Regions from separate parts of the Homo sapiens genome. Here all the other regions are linked to region 5. Evidence: promoter capture Hi-C in 16 types of primary human blood cells and fetal thymus (Javierre and others, 2016). All regions are on one chromosome and are shown on one strand. Each heading gives the region's core, a stretch centred on a gene start or on the middle of the fragment in contact. The rest is flanking DNA. Distances are from core to core; before and after follow the strand shown. Region 1 overlaps PLCG2 (phospholipase C gamma 2). Region 2 overlaps PLCG2 (phospholipase C gamma 2). Region 3 holds the start of ATMIN (ATM interactor). Region 4 overlaps PLCG2 (phospholipase C gamma 2). Region 5 holds the start of CMIP (c-Maf inducing protein). Region 6 overlaps CENPN (centromere protein N). Region 7 overlaps CMC2 (C-X9-C motif containing 2).

Region 1 (2,700 bases), core at 109-2,608, 460 kb before region 5:
CTTGGCCTTGAATAATTTCCTCAGCAAATACTAAATGTGTGACCCTGGCTGAGCTATTTAACCTCTGAATCTCAATGTCCACATCTGTAAAGTGGGCAAGGGCTGAGGTTATTCGTCCTGCAGTGTCTTGACAAGACTGAATAAGAAGATACATATGACCACGCCTAGCCAAGTGCATGGTACAAAGTGACCGTGTGGCCAACGCTATTTCCACCTCATTTCTTGAAATAGAAAGAAGTGGGCCACAGCGTATCAGGTGTGGGGCAGAGGGTGCTCTAAAAGGGGCCTTCAGTACTTTGCATCTTAGAACAAGAGCTGAAAACTCCCTGGGAACAGGCAGCAAGCCATCCTAATGGAAACAGAAGGAATGAGCTGGGAACAGGGAAGAGCACATGCAACCAGGCTGCCCCGAAGACTCACCAACTAGGTGCCTGAGAAGCCATGGACCCTCCATGGCCGAGCTCCCTCCACCCCTTATCCTGCCTTCACCGTGCTGGAAGCATCCCTTGGCATCTCCGAAACAACTGCCTGGGTGCAAACAGTGCTGCAGCTATTTTGTTAACTTGTGACCCCAGCCAGGTGGCTGCACTTCTCCAGGCCTCACACTTCTCATCTGCAAGACTAAGACAATGACAGCTGATCTCCCGCTTAGGCAAACATCTGTACCTTAAGGGTCACAGTCTTGGCCAAACACTCCCCGTGCACTGATGCTCTTACCCATGGGGGCACCAACATCCCCTCCTCTGGTTGTGCTTGGCCAAAGCTCCTTGCACTGTTTGGTGTTTCTCTGTTGACGGGTTTGTCTCCCTACCAAACCACGACTTCCTGGAACATAAGGATTGTGTCCAATGTATCTTGGTGGCCCAGTGATAATATAGGGTACATGCCACGTGTTGACACCACCACACCCTTGTGTGTCCTATTGTCCCAACCTGGAAGGACATCCCCCTTCTCTGCCTACTGCTATGGTCTGAATGTCTGTGTCCTCCCAAAATTTATATGTTGAAACCTAATCCCCAATGTAATGGTATTTGGAGATGGTAGCTTTGGAAGGTAATATGGTTTGGCTGTGTCCCCACCCAAATCTCACCTTGAATTGCAGCTCCTATAATTCCCACGTGTCATAGGAGGAACCCAGTGGGAGGTAATTGAATCATGGGGGCGGGCCTTTCACGTGCTGTTCTTGTGATAGTGAACACATCTCATGAGATCTGGTTTTATAAATGGGAGTTTCCCTGAACAAGCTCTCTTGCCTGCCACCATGTAAGATGTGACTTTGCTCCTCCTTTGCCTTCTGACATGATTGTGAGGCCTCCCCAGCCATATGGAACTGTGAGTCCATTAAACCTCTTTCCTTTATAAATTACCCAGTCTTGGGTATGTCTTTATGAGCAGTGTGAGAATGGGTAACACAGAAGGTGATTAGGTCATGAGGGTAGAGTCCTCATGAACGGGAATGAGGGTAGAGCTTTTATGAATGGGAATGAGGGTAGAGCTCTCATAAGTGGGAATGAGAGTAGAGCTCCAGTGAATGGGAATGAGGGTAGAGCTCTCAACAATGGGAATGGTGCCCTTATAAAAGAGGCCAAAGATATCTCCATGTCCCAGATGGTTATTTATAAATAAATAAATATTTAAAAATAAAAGAGGTCCCAGAGAGCTGCCTCACCCTTTCCACCATGTGAGGACACAACTAGAAGTCGGCAGCCTACAACTTGGAAGAGGACTCTCATACCAGCACCCTGACCTTGAACTTCCAGCCTCCAGAACCGTGAGAAATCAGTTCCTGTTGTTTATAACCCACCCAGCTTAGGGTATTTTGTGATAGCTGCAGGAACAGACTGAAATACCTAGGAAACAGCTGTTTGTCCTTCCCCATGAGCTCGTGGAATGTCAACAAAATTCACACTCGCTCCTTCCATGAAAGGCTGCCCCGCTAGGGACTTCAGATTCCACAGTCCTTGCAGGTAACGTGACTAAGCTCTCATGCACAGAACAGTAGAGAAAAGGACGGGACAGCTGACTTGCTTACCAGAAACCATTTGCCCTGGACACCCTTGGACTTCCCGTGCTCTGAGCTGGAACTCGGATGTGCCTGAGACCAAGCGTCCACCACATAAACAAGGACAAAGCAAAGTCCCTTCACCGTTTTTGTGTAATGAGCTCCTTCAAAATCTGGGGAAAGCTACAGACCCTTTTCTCAGAATAATAATGCATAAAATTACAAAGGAAACTCAATTATATTGAAACATGATTAAGATATTAAATAAATATTTGCAATACACTAAAAGATGGGTTTCTTCATTAACATCTTAAATAAGATCTAGAGGCAGACCTAATAACCTCCATAATTCCAAAGTGATGACGAGCACAACATTATTTTGAAATATTTGCAATAACTGTAAACGGGATATGAAAACACTCATGACTTCTGCTGGTGACAGAGCCCGCAAGTGGCTTGCTGCCAATGTTCACAATGGAAGGAAGTATTAAGTTTTATGTACAGGTTAAACAAATAAAGATGTAATTTTTTTTCTGTTGAAGTTCACGTGCCCCTCTGATTCTAACCGTGGATTCTTCGGGGGTCTGTGAAACCCCAGTTGAAAACTGCTGCCCTGAGAGATGCTAGAGCAGAATGCGGGGGCCCCGGGTCCCTGAGTCACCTTGTGGGCTAGAGCTCAAAACTCACAGAACATTCTC
Region 2 (2,700 bases), core at 180-2,679, 510 kb before region 5:
GTGGTTATATGAATTATCTCTCAAAGCTGTTACCCAAAAAAGCCAAGGTATCATAAATTACATCTTGCAGAGATGGGCATGTGCCTCACCTGTAGCCAGTAATGATTTCTACTTCCCCCACCAGTACAACCTCCAGGCACATGACCCAAGCAAGGCCAACTAGACGCATCCGTGGGACTTTCGTTGGTGCTCTTGGTAGAGTTTCTTTTCTTGGGATCAGCTGAAAGAGTAAGTGTGGTCCTGTCATGGCCACGTTGCTATTGAGTCAAGAAGTTTGGAATGTGCCAGAAAAAGAGGAAAACAGCCACTGAGTGAGCACAGAGATTCAGCCATGACTGAAACAAGACCTACCCCTAAACTTTTCAGTTGCAGGAACCAAAATAGTCCATTACGCTAGGGGAGAAAAAAAGACAAAAGCCACTCAGGGTAGGGAGTTTGGGTTTCAATGCAGGGGGAGGATGAGGATGTTTTGCCTCATCTGTTTCAGAGGATCCCTGACTACTCTGTGAAGCTTGGCTTTGCAGGAGGGTCAAGTCAATTGGCCTTTCCCGATGGAGTTCAAGTGAAAGACTCCTGTGCTACAAAAACATCTGTTGAGGTGCACAAACAAGATCCTTTGTCATTTACTTTTAGAAAAACACGGACTCAGACCATACTCTGCAAGGTTTTTTCCTCCTTTAATGACCTAACAAAACAGTCCCCAGGGTAACAGCTGGAACTGTGACTTTGGAGAAGGGGGACAGAAGATGATTATTCCAGCTGTTTGCAAAGGTTGAAGAGTAAGCAGAGGTAAAATGGGCTGTCCTTGGTGATTAAGTGAATGTATCAAGTGAGGCATTGGGAAGAGTCAGTAATGACTTCACTTAGTAATGACTTTCCTCCCTATTAAGAATAAAGCATATTAAAAAGTCAGGAAACAATAGATGCTGGCGAGGCTGTGGAGAAATAGGAACACTTTTACACTGTCGGTGGGAATGAAAATTAGTTCAACCATTGTGGAAGACAGTATGGTGGTTCCTCAAGGATCTAGAACCAGCAATACCATTTGACCCAGCAATCCCATTACTGGGTATGTACCCAAAGGAATATAAATCATTCTACTATAAAGACCCACGCACATGTAAGTTTACTGCAGCACCATGTACAACAGCAAAGACATGGAACCAACCCAAATGCCCATCAGTGATAGACTAGATAAAGAAAATGTGGTACATATACACCATGGAATACTATGCAGCCACAAAAATGAATGAAGTAATGTCCTTTGCAGGGACATGGATGAAGCTGGAAGCCATCATCCTCAGCCAGCAAACTAACACAGGAATGGAAAACCAAATACCATATGTTCTCACTCATAAGTGGGAGTTGAACAATGAGGACACAGGGAGGGCAACAACACACACCATGGCTAGTTGGCGGATGGGGAATGCATGTGGGACTTAAAACCTAGATGACAGGTTGACGAGTACAGCAAACCACCATGGCACACGTATACCTATGTAACAAACCTACACGTCCTGCACTTGTATCCTGGAACTTAAAGTAAAATTTTACAGAATAAAGTTCAGAGAAAAGGAAAAAGAAAAGAAAAGAATCAAGTCGCCGGGCGCAGTGCCTCAGGCATGTAATCCCCAGCACTTTGGGAGGCTGAGGTGGGAGGATTGCTTGACCAGGAGTTCAAGACCAGCCTGGGCAACATAGCGGGACCCTGTTACTATAAAAAATGAAAGAAATTAGCCAGGCATGGTGGCATACCCTGTACTCCCAGCTATTCAGGAGGCTGAGAGGGTAAGATCACATGAGCCCAGGAGGTTAAGGCTGCAGTGAGCCACGATCATGCCACTGTACTCCAGCCTGGGCAAGACAATGAGACCCTGTCTCAAAAAATAAAGCAAAATGAAAACCCCATTTAAGTCTTAATACTATACCATGAAAGGTCTCTCTTTCCCTTTTCTGCACCTAGAAGAAAATGGCTTCTGTTGTTTTATTCTATATAATGGGTATTTGTTATTCGGGCGCAAGTTCAAAATTCACCTTTTCTATGAATGCTTCTATAACTGCAACCCTTTATCACCTTTCCTGAGTGCCAAAATATTTGCAGCTATATTACATACTGTAGTCCTGGGTACACTGTATATATATGAGATATAATGCACATTCAGAAAAGAACGTAAAAGATAGAAACAGTTTAGTGAATAACTCTACAGCAAATGAACCAGCCCTCTTGACTTGAGGAACCACCACTCTAGTCAAGAGAAAGCATTTTGTGATACTTATTTCCTGGATTTCTTTTGAGTCTGAGTTTTCACTTAAAAATTTAGTTTGTTTTATTAGAAAATGAAGCTTTTGGTAATAAGTTTTACCTGGCCTGAGACAAAATCTTTATGGCACTCTCTGCCTTTAGTTTTTCTCCTGTTTGTTGGGGGGAAAAATACACAAAAAAATAAAGTTTTTCCCCCACCAATACCTTTTAAATTGTTTTATGTTGGAAGCTTAAGCTTACAAAAAAGGTACAGTAATAGTACAATGTTCTCACATACCCCAACCACCTAGACTCCACAGTGTTAACATCTCGCACAACCACAGTACAAGTATCAAAACTAAGAAATTAATATCGGTGCAATACTAAAACTACAGATCTTATTCATATTTCACTGGGTTTTCCACCAGTCTCCTTTTCCTGTTCCCACATCCAATCCG
Region 3 (2,700 bases), core at 41-2,540, 410 kb after region 5:
GTCCGGGGTGGGGCTGGACATCTGGATTTTTAATAAGCTTGTCACAGATGTGTCCCAAGGTTGAAAATGACTGCCCTGTTTTGCATAACGTGGAGGGTTGTTGAGACTATTGTCATGGTGTATTTACTGTGTCCCCCTCTTAAAGAAGAGCCACAGGGGCAATTTCCCTTAGGTCTCAGTCCTGAGCTGATCTTACCAACACCGTGAAACTGACTGATGGTGTTTAGAGGCAAACCTACCGCTCCTTTAAAACATTTTTTTATTCATAATCGACACACAGTAATTATTCCTACTGATGGGGTGCGGTGTGCAGCATGGATGGACATATACATTGCATAGTGATCAAGTCAGAGTGTTTAACATGTCCTCGACCTCAAACGTATTGTCTCTTGGTGGTGAGAACATTTAAAACCCTCTCTTCTAGTTATTGTGGCACATACAGTCCACTGGGCAGGACCCAAGGGCGGCATTGTGGGTGTCGTGGCAAGCACAGGGCTTTAGAACCAGAGGCCCCGGTTTAAAGCCCCGCATCATCTAGGTTGCATAATCTGTTTCTCATTAATATAATGGAGACGATGCGTCCCTCGCCAAAACGCCGTTAAGAACTCACAGGCAAAAAAGTGTAAAAAGCCTGGGCCGGCGTCCGGCACGACACTCGGGGCCAGGGAGCCAGGGAACCAGGGAACTGGCGCGTACGGCGGACCCGGGGCTCCCAGCTCCTCCTCCCCCCCAGAGGCCGCACCTGCGGCGCCTGCCGCGAGGGTTCGAGAGCCGCCTCCGGCCGGGGAGGGCAGAGGCCGGTGGGGCAGCGGCAGCGGCAGCGCGCAGGGCGCTCGTCCCCCCGAGGCCGGCTTCGCGCGCCGGCGCCGGGCGCTTTGTTGGAGCCAGGCCCGGCCCCCCGGGCCGCCGGCCGCGTCGGGCTCACCTGCAGGCGGTGGCTCTTGACTAGGTGCATGTTGAGCGCGGGGCTGTTGGGCAGGATCTTGCCGCAGCCGCGCACGGTGCACAGGATGTTGGTCCGCACGGCCCGGGACAGCTCGCTCACCGACGGCTGGATCAGCTCCCCCGCCGGCGGCGCGGGGACAGCGGGCTGCTGCGTCGCCCCCGCGGGCCGCGGCCGGCTGCCCCTCAGTCGGGGTCCCGGGGGCACCCACGGGCCCGAGGCGGCGGCGGCGGCTCCTGTCGTGGCCGCCGGGACGGCCCGGGCACCCGCCGCCAGAGCCGCGGACCCCGCCGCCGCCGCCGCCTCCGAGGCCGCCATGGCTCCCGCACGGCCGCCCGGCCCAGTTCGTAGGCCCCGCCCCCGCCGCAGCCACTTCCGGCAGGGGGCGAGGCCGCCAGGCTTGTTAGCATCCGGCGGGCCCAGGCGGCCGCGGCGCCCCCTGCCGGCCGCGGAGGGCGCGCCTTGGAGGGAGAGGACTTTAGGTGACGCCGCCAGGAGGCGAAATTTCACCTGCCAGCAGGTAAAAGGTATTGCCCCGCCTCTCTAATCGATCCATTCTTCCTAGGAAAGTGACTTCAGGCAGTAGTCACATAAAAGAAAAAGCAATACGTTGAGCAATGCGTTTACTTCCCAAAGATTAGAAACAACCCAAATGTCTAGTGGCAGGTGAGGCAGAAGTACACTGATTTCCGCCGTTGTTTATTACCTAGGCCTTACTGGGTACCAGGTGGGTCTGGTGGATGCACTTTTCATGCTGTGTCTCATTTTGTCTTCAAAACGACTGTAGCGGGTATGTACTGTAACTTGCCCCACCTTGTGCAGAGAAGGACATTTAGGCTTATATAAATTAAGTAACTTGACCTAGACCACACTATACAAATGAAAAGATTGTTATTATTGATAGGATTAATCATTTTAAGAAGGCTGGATTTGCTTGCTTCTATTTTAGCTGCTGAAATTAGGATTACTGTTTGGGAGACACTGCAGTTCAGTATACGATTACAAAACTTAATACTTAGACTGGGTAGTTCATGTAAATGGACATAGGAGGCTGGGGTAGACAAAAGGGAGGGGTGAGGACTGCAGTGAAATTGGAAACACATCCTTTATTAAAAGGGGGCAGCTGCTACTCATCTTTGGTATGGCTAGAGTTTTATGTGAAAATTTCCACCTTTTACATACTAGCAGCTATATTCGTTTTCTCTTGCTATTAATAAATTACCACAAACTTACTGCCTTAACACAAATTTATTATCTTCCAGCTCTGGAGGTCAAAAGAAATGAGACTGCTGGGCTAAGATCAAGGTGTCAGCAGGGCTGTATTCCTTCCCAAGGCTCCAGGGGAGAATCTGTTCACTTGCCTTTCCCAGCTTCTAGAGGTTGCCTACATTCCTTGGCTTGCGGACCCTTCCTCCATCTCCAGAATCAGTAACGGTGAGTTGAGTCTTCGTCACATCACATCACTCTGATTTCTTCAGTAGTGATCCCTCTGATTCTTCTATTCTTGAGGCCCCCTGTGATGACATTGGGCCCATTCAAATCATCCAGGATAATTTCTCCAACTGCCAAGTCCCTTTGCCTTGCAAGATAACTGTGATAATGTGAAGTATATATTTGGTCTTTGTCCTGGCATGCAATTCCTAAAATCCTTGGAATCAGCAAATTGGTGTTTTTTTGTATGCTAATTAGTTGACTGATGACTCACAGTCCCTAGGTAGCTTTAGGATGGGACTGGTCACTGGAAAGACCAAGGTAGG
Region 4 (2,700 bases), core at 62-2,561, 440 kb before region 5:
TGTGTATGTTTGAAATGTTCTGCAAGACAAGAGGTTTTTTAAGTAAATGAACTTATTTTTGCTGCAACCCTAAAACTACTCTAAAATATAAACTCTATTTAAAAAAAAACAAATGAAGTAAAAGAAAAAAGTAAATGGAACTCCAATGATATAAACAAAAATTTGAGATTTATATGTGAAAAGACATGCATACATGTACACACACACACACACACAGATCCATACAATTGACTCTGATCCCCACAATTCTCAGAGGTAGATGCTCTCAATCCCACTTAAAGAGGGGGAAACTGGGGCACAAAAAGGGTAAACCACCTGTCGGTGGCTGTGCAGCTGGTAAGATGATTTCAAGTTGATCTCACTCTCACAGAGTTTCTTGTCCTCAGCACTGTAGGTACTTGGTGCTGAATACTTCTTTGACTTTTTTTTTTTTGGTGGGGTGGGGGTGTTTTTGTTTTTTGTTTTCTGAGACGGAGTCTTGCTCTGTTGCCCAGGCTGCAGTCCAGTGGCGCAATCTCGGCTCACTGCAACCTCTACCTCCCAGGTTCAAGCCATTCTCCTGCCTCAGCCTCCCAGGTAGCTGGGATTACAGGCACCCACCACAATGCCTGCCTAATTTTTGTATTTTTAGTAGAGATGGGGTTTCACCATGTTGGCCAGGTAGGTCTCGAACTCCTGGCTTCAAGTGATCCGCCCGCCTCGGCCTCCCAAAGTGCTGGGATTATAGGCGTGAGCCACCCTACCCGGCCCTGAATACTTCTTCGCTGGGGGGTAGGGGGGGCTGCCCTGTGCAATGTAGGATATTTAGGAACATCCCTGGTGTTGACCTGCTAGATGCCGGCAGCAGCCTCCCGCTGTGACACGCACCCATGTCGTCTCTGGACACTGCCCAGTGTCCTCTGGGGGCATCGTCACAGCAGTGGAAAACCAAGGCGCAACACAACCCCCCCTTGAGTCTATAGCTGGGCTCAGAGCCCACAGGCAAACCCTGTCCAGGGAGACTGTCCCAGGCATCACCTGTTTAAGGAAAGCTGTGCTAGTTTATCTCCCAGGGGACCTGGCAGGCTTGATGAATCTGATCCCATCCTCCCATCAGTCAAGGAAGGCTTCCCAGGCAGTGACACCTGAGATGATGGCCAGAAAAGGTGCACCCAGCCAGGTGAGGGCAGCCCCATCCTCAGGCCCTCACCCCTCCTGCCCTGCCATCTTCTCAGTCTTCTCATCCTCAATGTGTGCCTTCAAAAGAGGCCCGACATGAGGCTCTTCTCATCCAGAGTTTCAGTGGCATCAGACAGCAATCTGAAGTCTCTGGCATCTGGCAGACTGCAATCGTTCCATGAAGACAGGTGGCCAGGTGAGCACAGGTGGCCAGGTGAGCACAGGTGACCAGGTGAGCACAGGCGGCAGAAGGGTGAGACTAGTCCCCAGCAGCATCCCGCCAGCTCCCTCAGGCACCCACACACCTTGTGCTCTCACCTGCTGTTCATGTATGAGAAACCTCTGGAAGTCATGCAGGTAAACAGCAGAGGCATCCGGCCTGTCAGTGTTCCTATCCTCGGGGAAAGGGGGTGCAGTTAGAGACAGACACATTCAACAGAGGAGTCGAGAGGAGATGCCAGCCAATGGGGCAGCCTGCCACCCAGAACGCCCCACTTAGTCTGGCACTGTGTTAGGTACCAGGTTGGCCAACAGGAAGACACAGGTGAGTGACACAATGTCCCTCACCTACAAGGATTCAGAGGGACCCTGACATCGGAATCTCAAGGGGCAGGCCCTGGTGTCTACATTTAGCTGCTCCAAAATAGCTCTGGTGCACCCCAGAGTCTGAGGAGCCCCTCCAGGAGTGTGGCCATGGGGAAGACAGGTGAACCAGGCATATGGGATACAGTGTAGCAAGAGATGAGGGTGGGAAGGGAGGGGAAGAGTGGGAATGGCTGAGAAGGCCCCAAACCCAGACCTGGAGGACCAGAGGGGCTTTCCTGAGGAAAAGGCACCTACTTGAGCTCCAGAGAGTGAGGTGGGATGAGCCAGAACGAGGTGGGGTGAGCCAGAATGAGGTGGGGTGAGCAAGAATGAGGTGGGGTGAGCAAGAAGGAGGTGCAGAGAGTACCTGGCAAGGAAACCAGAGAAGCAGCGGCCTCGAGGAAAAAAGAGAAGGGAGGGGAGGAAAGAAAGAGGAGTAGGAGCGAGGGAACGCAGGCCAGAGGGAGGGATTGCAGAGCAAAAGGTGTGGGGAACACAGGGATGTGAGTGTGCCTATCCAATACCCAGACAGGGCTCGACACACCACCCGCCCGTAGAGGGAGAGCTGGTGTTGGAGAAAGGACAGGAGCCAGACCCAAGGGCCTCCTCAGAAGCCACGATCCAGAGTTCCCTGGGTCATTGAGTGCTCTGGAGTGGGAGCCACATGAGGCCCCACCAGACTCCAGGCCATCAGGGCAAAATTAACTGCAGTGTGAAAGACACTTCCCTGGACCAAGCAGAGGTTAGGTATCAGGTAGGGAACACTAGGGAACACTACACTCCGAATAAAGGCAGGACTCCCGCCTTGGCCAGCAGGCCACCAGAAAAACAGGGCCTCACTGGGCCAGCACGAGCCACCCCCGGGTTGGATGGGGAGTACATTCTGCTACACGGGGCTTCCCAGGGTAATGGGTATGTTTCCCTGAGCACTTGCAGGAGCCTGGGGAAAAGAGGTCT
Region 5 (2,700 bases), core at 49-2,548:
AAGGGAAGCACCCCGTTCTGCCTGCCAGCCCTGGCAGGAAAGAGAATAAAGGACGGGTAAACCAAACAGAGAAACTGGCTTCTGGAAATTCTTTGGGTTTGGGGGTTTGGAGGTTTTGTTGTGTTGTTTGTTTTTTTTTTTAAATCTGAGGGGTGGTATTTTGTTTTCCCCTCCCCCACCCCTCAGATCCAGATGGGCCAGGGGCTTCCAGAGAGAACCCCCACCACCATCAGGGCCCAGCGTCGGGTCCATCCTCGAGTCCCAGCCACCAGAAACACAAGAGCTGGGGGCAGAAGGTCCCCAGGCACCCAGCCTGGCGGTGGGCCGAGTCTCCAGCATTTTAAGGGTCTCTCCTGAGCCCGGTCGGCTGGTTTGGGCTTCAGACTCCAAAATCGAGCCCCGCGAGCAGGCCAGGAGCGAGGCGCCCTGGTTCTCCCCGTTCCCCCGGCACCCCCCACCGCCCCCCAGGCCCTGGGCTCCAGGTGCAGCGCCAGGGGGCAGCCAGGGAGGGCGCATCTCGGGCCCCGAGGAGAGGCGGGGGTGCAGCCGCGCAGAGCCACTCACCGTGGCGGACGCCAGGCTGTTGTCGGCCAGCGTTAGGTGGTGCGGCTCCCAGCGCCTCAGGAATTTCGAGGTGAGGATCTTGCTGAGAAAGGTCCGCGGGTGCCGGATGACACAGACCTGAATGTCGCCCTCCTGCAGCAGTTTGTACCTCATCCCGTTGCAAAGCAGAAGAGCCCGGCGGCAGGGCACGGCGCCCATCTTCGTGCCTTCGGGGGCCGACACGTCGCCCCCCAGCAGCGGCTTGGTCTCCTCGATCTGCCGGGGGTCGCCGCCGCCGCCCGAGCTGCTGGTCACATCCATGGCCGCGCCGGGGGAGGGGGCTGGGGGCGGGGAGAGGGGGCTGTCCTGGGCTGCTGGGGCGGCGGGGCCCCCGGATCCGGCGGCCCGCACCCCCCCACCCCCCGGGAAGGTGGGGGGGTGTGGGGCTGGGGGCGCCCGCAGGGGAGGGGGCGCTGCCCGCGGGGGGCGGCGCGTGCGGCGGGCTGGGCCGGCCTCGGCGCTTCCTGCGGGGCTCCGGGCTTCCTCCTAGCTCGTCGGGTGCATGCTCGCGGCGGCTGACCGGGCTCGGCGGGCGACGGGGAGGGGCGGGGGAGGCCGAGGGCGGGCCGGGGCCAGGCGCGGAGGGCGGGCGCCGGGGTGGGGGCGGCGGGGTGGGGGCGGGCGTGTCTCGGGGCCCCGCGCCGCCGCGCGCGTGTGTACAGAGCGTGTGTCCGCGCGGCCGTCCGGGCGAGAGTGGCCGCGGGCGGGGCGGGCCGCGCGCCGGGCTCCCGGAGCCCGGGGCGCCCGCGCGATTGGTCCCCGCAGGGTCATGTGCCCGCCCCTCTGACGTCAATGGCGGCAACGGCGGCGGCCGCGGCGGCTTCGGCCTCTCGCGGGCGGAGTCCGCGGTCCGGGCGGGGTCGCGGCCCACGACGGGGAGGCGCGGCCCGACGGGAGGGGCAGCCCCTGGGGAGGGGGCTGGGGCGGGCGAGCCCCGCGGGGTCCCGGCCCGCCCCGCCTGGAATGTGGGGAGGGGGCGGGGCGCGGGGGCGGGGCGCGTGACGTCACGCCAGCCGCGCCCCCGCGGGTGCCCGGGCGGGAGCCCAGCCAGGCTGCCGGAGCCTGGGGGCCCGCGCCTCACCCACCCCCGCCGCCCCCGGGCCGGACTCGGACGGGTAAAGAAGGATACCCGAGGGCCGGGGGCTGGGTGGAAGGACGGGGACTGGAACCCTCGACCCCTGACGCCCCCTCCGCTGTCCAGGCTGTCCAGCGGGCTGGCCAGATGGGGCCGTGGGACGGGGACGCCTTCCCGACTGAAAGTGTCCCCGCGGTGATCCGGAGGATGAGCCCACCCTGCCCTGTCTCCCACTGCGGGACCCAGCCGGCCTCGAACTCCTGGCCTTTGACGTCTGCTGGCTTTGGCCTTGGGGGTCCTCAAACCTTCTGGAGAGAGGGGACGGTCCGCCCATCCCCCTTCTTTCTTCTGCCCAGGGAGACAGAGCCTCTTCTAGGAACCCACTTAAAGCACCCCCCAACCTACACAGCCACCCCTCTTGTGCGCACCCCAGCAGCTCCCCCTACTTCACCTTCCCTGGGACCCCACCTGGTCATTTTATCTGAGTTCACAGGCCCAGCACCAGCCCACGAGAGAACCATATTCGATTCTCTTGTGACCCAGGGTATCAGGAACTGCAGCCTGGATGCAAAAAGCTCCCTTTCTGCCATCACAAGCAGCCGGCACCTAAGGCCACCTAGCAAATGCTCAGCTCCTCAGCCAGGTTTTCTTATCTCCACGTGCTCCTGCAGCTAATAACGTTAAAACCCTAGATTTTTGCCTTTTTAAGTGAAGGCGCCTCTGTAGTGAACACATGAATGTGTGCAGCGTGTGTTGAACTGCGTCGTGAACACTGCGGAATATCCACAGCATCTGTGCCGTTGGTGGAAATTATTCACCCCCCCTCTCCCAAGAACAGGCAGCATGAAGGTGCTCCCCAGAGGACCCTCTCCCCGAGCCTGGCCAGGGTTTCAGGCAGGGGATGAAAGGCAGGTCCCAGGCTGCATCCCTCACCAAGGAAAGAAGACTCACATCCAGCCTGCCCAGGAGATGCCTCCTTGGGGAGGCACAATTAGATTAGAAAGTTAGAAATTCCTTAGCTC
Region 6 (2,700 bases), core at 158-2,657, 430 kb after region 5:
AGTAGCTGGGACCACAGGTACATGCCACTGCACCTGGCCTAGTATTCTCTATCAAATACTTATTCAACAGTTAAAATCTATATAGACCTTTGAGATAGGATAATAAAATATTATAGCTTGTAATAATTTTTTCCATACCTGACCCAGAAGCGGTGTATTGCGCCTCAGCATGGAGGAGGACGTGAAGGCGTACGGAGTCTGGGAGTAGTACACCACGTAGGTAGGTTTGTACTGGTTTGGCTTTGTGTACTGTGTTCCCCAGGCAATTCGAATCCAGACTGCATTCTCCTCAGTTTCTCTGAAGCTGACTGTCACCTTATTAAAGAAAAAAAAAAAAGGCTTAATTTCCTAATTAAAATTTCACTGTGGCACCAACTCCAGGTGCTTATTAGGGGTGAACAATGATGTCCCTATACTCTTGTATGCAGGTTGAGACCTGGCAGTCTTTTCTGCTTTTCATGAGTATTTTGAGAATCTTTGGGAAAACATTTTGTGATTTTAAAAAAAAAAAATCCTTTTCAGTTCTTTTTTTTTTTTTGAGACTAGGTCTTGCTCAGTTGCTCAGGCTGGAGTGCTGTGGCATGATCATAGCCTGCTCACGGCAGCCTCAACTTCCTGGGCTCAAGCAATCCCATCTCAGCCTCCCTAGTAGCTGAGACCACAGGCACGTGCCATCATGCCTGGCTAATTTTTTTAAAAAAGTTTTTTTTTGTAGAGGTGATTGTTTTTTCAATAATTTCTTGGGCTTGTCCTGAAAACTGTTCCTCCTTACGTAAGAATTTATGAGGTAAGGCAGCCTTACAAATGAGATACTTGTTTTATAATGAAGCCTTCTTAGCATCTAACCCAGACCTAGCACACGCTATAAACTTTAACAGTAAGATTTCTATGTAATTAGGCTGGGTGTTGTGGCTTATGCCTGTAATCCTAGCACTTTGGGAGGCTGAGGTAGGAGGATCGCTTGAGCCCAGGAGTTTTGAGACCAACCTGGACAACATAGTGAAACTCAGTATCTACCGGAAAAAAAAAAAAAAGCCAGGCACGGTGACATGTGCCTATAGTCCCAGCTACTCAAGAGGCTGAGGTGGGAGGATGGCTTGAGCCTGGGAGGTCTAGACTATAGTGAGCCGAGATCATGTCAGTGCATTCCAGCCTGGGCAACAGAGTGAGACCACGTTTCCAAAAAAAAACAAAAACAAAACAAAAAGAAGAAGAAAAAGAAGATTTCTATGTCATAATGGGCTTAAAGAAGATTTCTATGTAATAATGGGCTTGAAAATATACTATTCCTAATGCTCTTATGCATTTAGCTCAGAAGCTAAAAACTCCTCTAAAAGAATGTTACATGGCAAGACCAGAGGTACTACCTTGAATCCACTTCATGGATAAAATACAGGCCTTTCCAAACTTTTAAATATGGTTGCCAATTGGTCTGGAATTTAATAGGCTGCTCCTGGATTATCAGCTCCCCTCTGATTCAGCTTCCCTTTAAAGCTCTGAGCCTAGAAAGGAGGGACTTGAGTGAGATGCACTCAGCTTGCCCACGTCTCTGTTTCCTCCCTCTGAGATCTTGTTCTAGGAAAAGTGGGTTGTTACAGTGGCACTAGCAAATTCTGCTCATTCTTTAGCAGCTTTTCCAAATTCCCTCAGTGCAGGAGACAAGAAAGTCTCCCCAGTCCAGGGTATGGCGGCACACAGCTGTCTGACTTTCCTGAGTGAGCATCATAGAGCTTGGACCCAGTCACATGCTCAGTGGGCCTCTACTGCCTTGAATGGAAGATTGTCTTATTCTGAATAGCTTCTTTGTTTTACATTAAAAAAGCAAAAACATCTGTAAAATCAAGGGTGCTTCAGGTTTGCACTGACTATTACTGGAACTACTAGCTACATGTGGCTATTTAATGTAAAAAATCATTGAAGTTTAAAAAGATTAAAAATTCAGGCTGGGTGCGGTGGCTCACACCTGTAATCCCAGCACTTTGGGAGGCCGAGGCAGGCAGATCATCTGAGGTTAGGAGTTCGAGACCAGCCTGGTCAACATGGAGAAACCCCATCACTACTAAAAATACAAAAATTAGCTGGGCATGGTGGTGCGTGCTTGTAGTCCCAGCTACTCGGGAGGCAGAGGCAGAAGAATTGCTTGAACCCAGGAGGCAGTTGCAGTGAGCCGAGATCTCGCCACTGCACTCCAGCCTGGGCAACAGAGTAAGACTCTGTCTCAAGGAAAGAAAAAAAAAAAAAGATTAAAAATTCAGCTGCTCAGTCACACTAGCCGCAAGTGCTCAGCAGCTACATGTGGCTGAACTGAACAGTGCCAATACAGAGCATTTCCATCACTGCAGAAAGCTCTGTTGGACTGAGCTCCTCTGGAAAAAGAAGCCTCAGGCCCTGAATGGACAGGAGAGAGGAAAGGGAAGTTTTCATAATATTTACAGTGTGTTTCTGATATGGAGTAGAACCGTATGAACTATTACTAACTGAATTTCTTACAAATTAAAAAAAAACTATGATAGTAGCAAATTTTAAGTGCACAGACGTCATGACATTGAATTTTATGTAAAAGATGAATTTTATTCTTACATTTTTTAATGCTCTCTGAAGAATTTTCTTGAACGAATTTTTAAATTGTTTCATATCAAAAAGGTCAACATCTTCACCTGCCAAAGTGAAAAAAAAATAAAGAAAAATCAAGGGAGCTAC
Region 7 (2,700 bases), core at 142-2,641, 450 kb after region 5:
TGTAATTGTGTTTGAGTACTTAGTCCTAATTCTCTTCCGAAGGTGAATGTCCAGAATGGTGTTTCCTGGGTTTTCTTCTAGGATTCTTATAGTTTGAGGCATTCTGTGTAAATCTGTAATCTATCTAGAGTTAATTTTTGTATATGATGAAAGGTAGGGGTCCACTTTTATTCTTCTGCATATAGCTAGCCAACTATCCCAGCACCATTTATTGAATGGGAAGTCCTTTTGCCATTGCTTATTTTTGTTGACTTTGTCAAAGATCAAAAGTGTGTGGCTTTATTTCTGGGCTGTTATGTTCCATTGGTCCATGTGTGTGTTTTTGTAGGAGAAGCTTGCTGATTTGGTTATTGTAGCCTTATAGTCTGAAGTAGGGTAATGTGATACGTTTGGTTTTTGTTCTTTTTGCTTAGGATTCTTTTGGCTATTTGAGCCCCTTTTTGGTTCCATATGAATTTTTGGATAGTTTTTTCTAATTGTGTGAAAAAATGCCATTGGTAGTTTGATAGGAGTAGTGTTGAATATGTAGATTGCTTTGGGCAATATGGCCATTTCAGTGATATTGATTCTCCCAATCCATGAGCACGGAATGTTTTTCTATTTGTTTGTGTCATCTGTGATTTCTTTCAGCAGTGTTTTGTAGTTCTTCCTGTAGAGATCTTTTACCTCCTTGGTTGGATGTATTCCTGGGTATTTTATTTTTTTGGTGGCAATTGAAAATGGGATTGTATTCTTGATTTGGCTTTCAGGTTGAACCTTATAGTGTATAGACGTGCTACTGATTTTTCTATGTTGATCTTGTATCCTGAAACTACTCAAGTCATTTGGCAGAGTCTTTAGGGTTTTCTGGGTATAGAATCATATCGTCAGTGAAGAGAGACAGTTTGACTTCTTTTCTTATTCGGATGCCTTTTATTTCTCTTGACTGATTGCTTTGGCTAGGAAATAAGTACTGTGTTGAATAGGAGTGGTGAGAGCGGGCATCCTGTTCCCTTGTTCCGGTCCTCAAGGGAAATGCTTCCATCTTTTGCCTGTTCAGTATGATGTTGGCTGTGAGTTTGTCATAGATGGCTCTTATTTTGAGGTATGTTCTTCAGTGCCTAGTTTGTTGAGGGTTTTTATCATGAAGGGATGTTGGATTTTATCAAAGGCTTTTTCGCATCTATTGAGATAATCACATGGTTTTTGTGTTTAATTCTGTTTGTGTGGAGAATCACATTTATTGATTTGCGTATGTTGAACCCTATATATATGTTTTTTGACTGGCTTATTTCATTCAGAATGTCCTCACATTTCATCCATGTTGTAGCATATGCCAGAATTTCCTTCCATTTTAAGGCTGAATAGTATTCCATTGTATGTATATACCACATTGTGCTGATCCATTGTCTGTTGGACTCTTGGGTTGCTTCCATGTTTTAATTATTGTGAATAATATGCCGTGAACATGGGTGTTCAAATATCTCTTCAAAACCCTGCATTTAATTCTTATGAAAATATAGCCGGAAGTGGAATTGTTGGATCATATGGTAATTTCATTTTTAATTTTTTGAGGAACTGCTATACCAGTTTCCACAGTGGCTATCCCAGTTTACATGCCCGCCCACAGTGCGCAGGAGTTTCAGTTTCTCCACATCCTCTTTAGCGTTTGTTATTTTCTGTTTTTTTTTCAGCAGTAGCCATCCTAATGGATATGGGTTGGTTCCTGTTTTCTATTTGGAACTTTAAAAAAAATTAAAGCAGGTAATCGGTTCTTTCTTTTGGTAATCATTTCTGAGTTAGAGTAGGTTAAGCCCAGGTGGGGCACGGTAGCTCATGCCTGTCCCAACACTTTGGGAGGCTGAGGATCACTTGAGGACAGGAGTTTGAAACCAGCCTGGGCAACATAGCAAGACCCCTGACTACAAAAAAAAAAAAAAAAAAAGAACAGCTGCCCATGATGTTTTTCCTTTGACCTTGGCTGCTAATTTTCCACCTTGTGGATGATCCAATTAAACTTAAGTTCAGGGATTTCAGCTTCATGTTTTCAGTGTAATAATTAGTTTTATGGCTATATCTGTTAAATTTGAAATTTTTTTTCACAACTTCTGGTTTCATTTCATTGTTTAGTTTTTTTTTCAGCCAGCTATTAAGAAAAAAGCAATCTATATTCACACTAATATGAGACTAATGACCCTTTAACCCTCAGAATAATATACATTTTAAAATAATAAGCCAATTCTCTTAATTGGTAGAATTTCATCTGAACAAAATGAGTTGTTAATTTCGAGAATGTGGCGAAAATATTTGAAGTCAGGCTTATTAATATAAGCAAGCTGTTTCTGCTTTAGTGCTTATTTCCGGGATTGGGTCTCTTGAGGCTTCCTGCTTTTCTCCTGAACCTGTAGGTTCTCTAAATACTACTGATAACTTGCTGAATATCTTAAATCATTGAATTAGAAAGCTTTGTCTCAAGTTTAATAATTTGCCTGAGGTCACACAGCTGGTTAATGGTTAACATACTTCTCTGATAAAGGTCACTAGAGGTTCTTATGAAGATACTTTTAGGTGGCGTAACAAATGTGTTTATGCATATTCAAGACACTCTTGTATCCACAGGTTGCACTGCTGTGATCCATCCTCATCTCCTAAAGATGCATCCTGACTTATCTCCACACTTGCACACTGAAGAATGCAACGTCTTGATTAACTTGCTTAAGG

The links. Contacts are between HindIII fragments. The CHiCAGO score rates a contact against its expected background, and 5 or more counts as called.
Region 1: a fragment that was not itself captured here is called in contact with the fragment with the promoter of CMIP in region 5 in 3 of 17 cell types (neutrophils, total B cells and naive B cells); the score reaches 8.5 in neutrophils.
Region 2: a contact is called between a fragment that was not itself captured here and the fragment with the promoter of CMIP in region 5, in 1 of 17 cell types (total B cells). The highest score is 7.0, in total B cells.
Region 3: a contact is called between the fragment with the promoter of ATMIN here and the fragment with the promoter of CMIP in region 5, in 2 of 17 cell types (naive CD8 T cells and naive CD4 T cells). The highest score is 9.1, in naive CD8 T cells.
Region 4: a contact is called between a fragment that was not itself captured here and the fragment with the promoter of CMIP in region 5, in 8 of 17 cell types (neutrophils, naive B cells, total B cells and 5 more). The highest score is 18.5, in neutrophils.
Region 6: a fragment that was not itself captured here is called in contact with the fragment with the promoter of CMIP in region 5 in 1 of 17 cell types (neutrophils); the score reaches 5.5 in neutrophils.
Region 7: a contact is called between a fragment that was not itself captured here and the fragment with the promoter of CMIP in region 5, in 1 of 17 cell types (neutrophils). The highest score is 5.5, in neutrophils.

What each region holds. Positions count from the first base shown.
Region 1 is chr16:81,901,422-81,904,121 of GRCh38, reverse strand. The region is part of intron 14 of PLCG2 (phospholipase C gamma 2); the gene reads right to left. Among named protein-coding and RNA genes, the nearest start is that of SDR42E1, 110 kb to the left of the region's middle. The HindIII fragment of the contact is 6,358 bases long and covers 1-2,700 here.
Region 2 is chr16:81,953,222-81,955,921 of GRCh38, reverse strand. The region is part of intron 31 of PLCG2 (phospholipase C gamma 2); the gene reads right to left. Among named protein-coding and RNA genes, the nearest start is that of SDR42E1, 57 kb to the left of the region's middle. The HindIII fragment of the contact is 1,832 bases long and covers 514-2,345 here.
Region 3 is chr16:81,034,432-81,037,131 of GRCh38, reverse strand. It overlaps ATMIN (ATM interactor), which reads right to left and starts at 1,290. Exons shown (of 4, transcript NM_015251.3): 1 at 926-1,290. The coding sequence starts at 1,261. CENPN-AS1 (CENPN antisense RNA 1) reads left to right here. Exons shown (of 4, transcript XR_007065134.1): 1 at 1-395; 2 at 2,206-2,377. RefSeq lists silencers at 621-970, 1,181-1,470. The HindIII fragment of the contact is 2,725 bases long and covers 40-2,700 here.
Region 4 is chr16:81,882,118-81,884,817 of GRCh38, reverse strand. It overlaps PLCG2 (phospholipase C gamma 2), which reads right to left. Exons shown (of 33, transcript NM_002661.5): 9 at 1,477-1,549. Among named protein-coding and RNA genes, the nearest start is that of PLCG2, 100 kb to the right of the region's middle. The HindIII fragment of the contact is 5,892 bases long and covers 1-2,700 here.
Region 5 is chr16:81,443,406-81,446,105 of GRCh38, reverse strand. It overlaps CMIP (c-Maf inducing protein), which reads right to left and starts at 1,298. Exons shown (of 21, transcript NM_198390.3): 1 at 565-1,298. The coding sequence starts at 864. RefSeq lists silencers at 306-605, 1,036-1,085, 1,156-1,505, 1,616-1,715 and an enhancer at 1,925-2,457. The HindIII fragment of the contact is 9,361 bases long and covers 1-2,700 here.
Region 6 is chr16:81,017,715-81,020,414 of GRCh38, reverse strand. CENPN (centromere protein N) reads right to left here. Exons shown (of 11, transcript NM_001100624.3): 5 at 2,581-2,657; 6 at 139-315. It overlaps CENPN-AS1 (CENPN antisense RNA 1), which reads left to right. Exons shown (of 4, transcript XR_007065134.1): 4 at 1-123. Among named protein-coding and RNA genes, the nearest start is that of CENPN, 12 kb to the right of the region's middle. The HindIII fragment of the contact is 3,405 bases long and covers 1-2,700 here.
Region 7 is chr16:80,997,328-81,000,027 of GRCh38, reverse strand. CMC2 (C-X9-C motif containing 2) reads left to right here. Exons shown (of 4, transcript NM_020188.5): 2 at 2,599-2,700. The coding sequence starts at 2,634. Among named protein-coding and RNA genes, the nearest start is that of CMC2, 8.2 kb to the left of the region's middle. RefSeq lists an enhancer at 668-1,234. The HindIII fragment of the contact is 2,109 bases long and covers 337-2,445 here.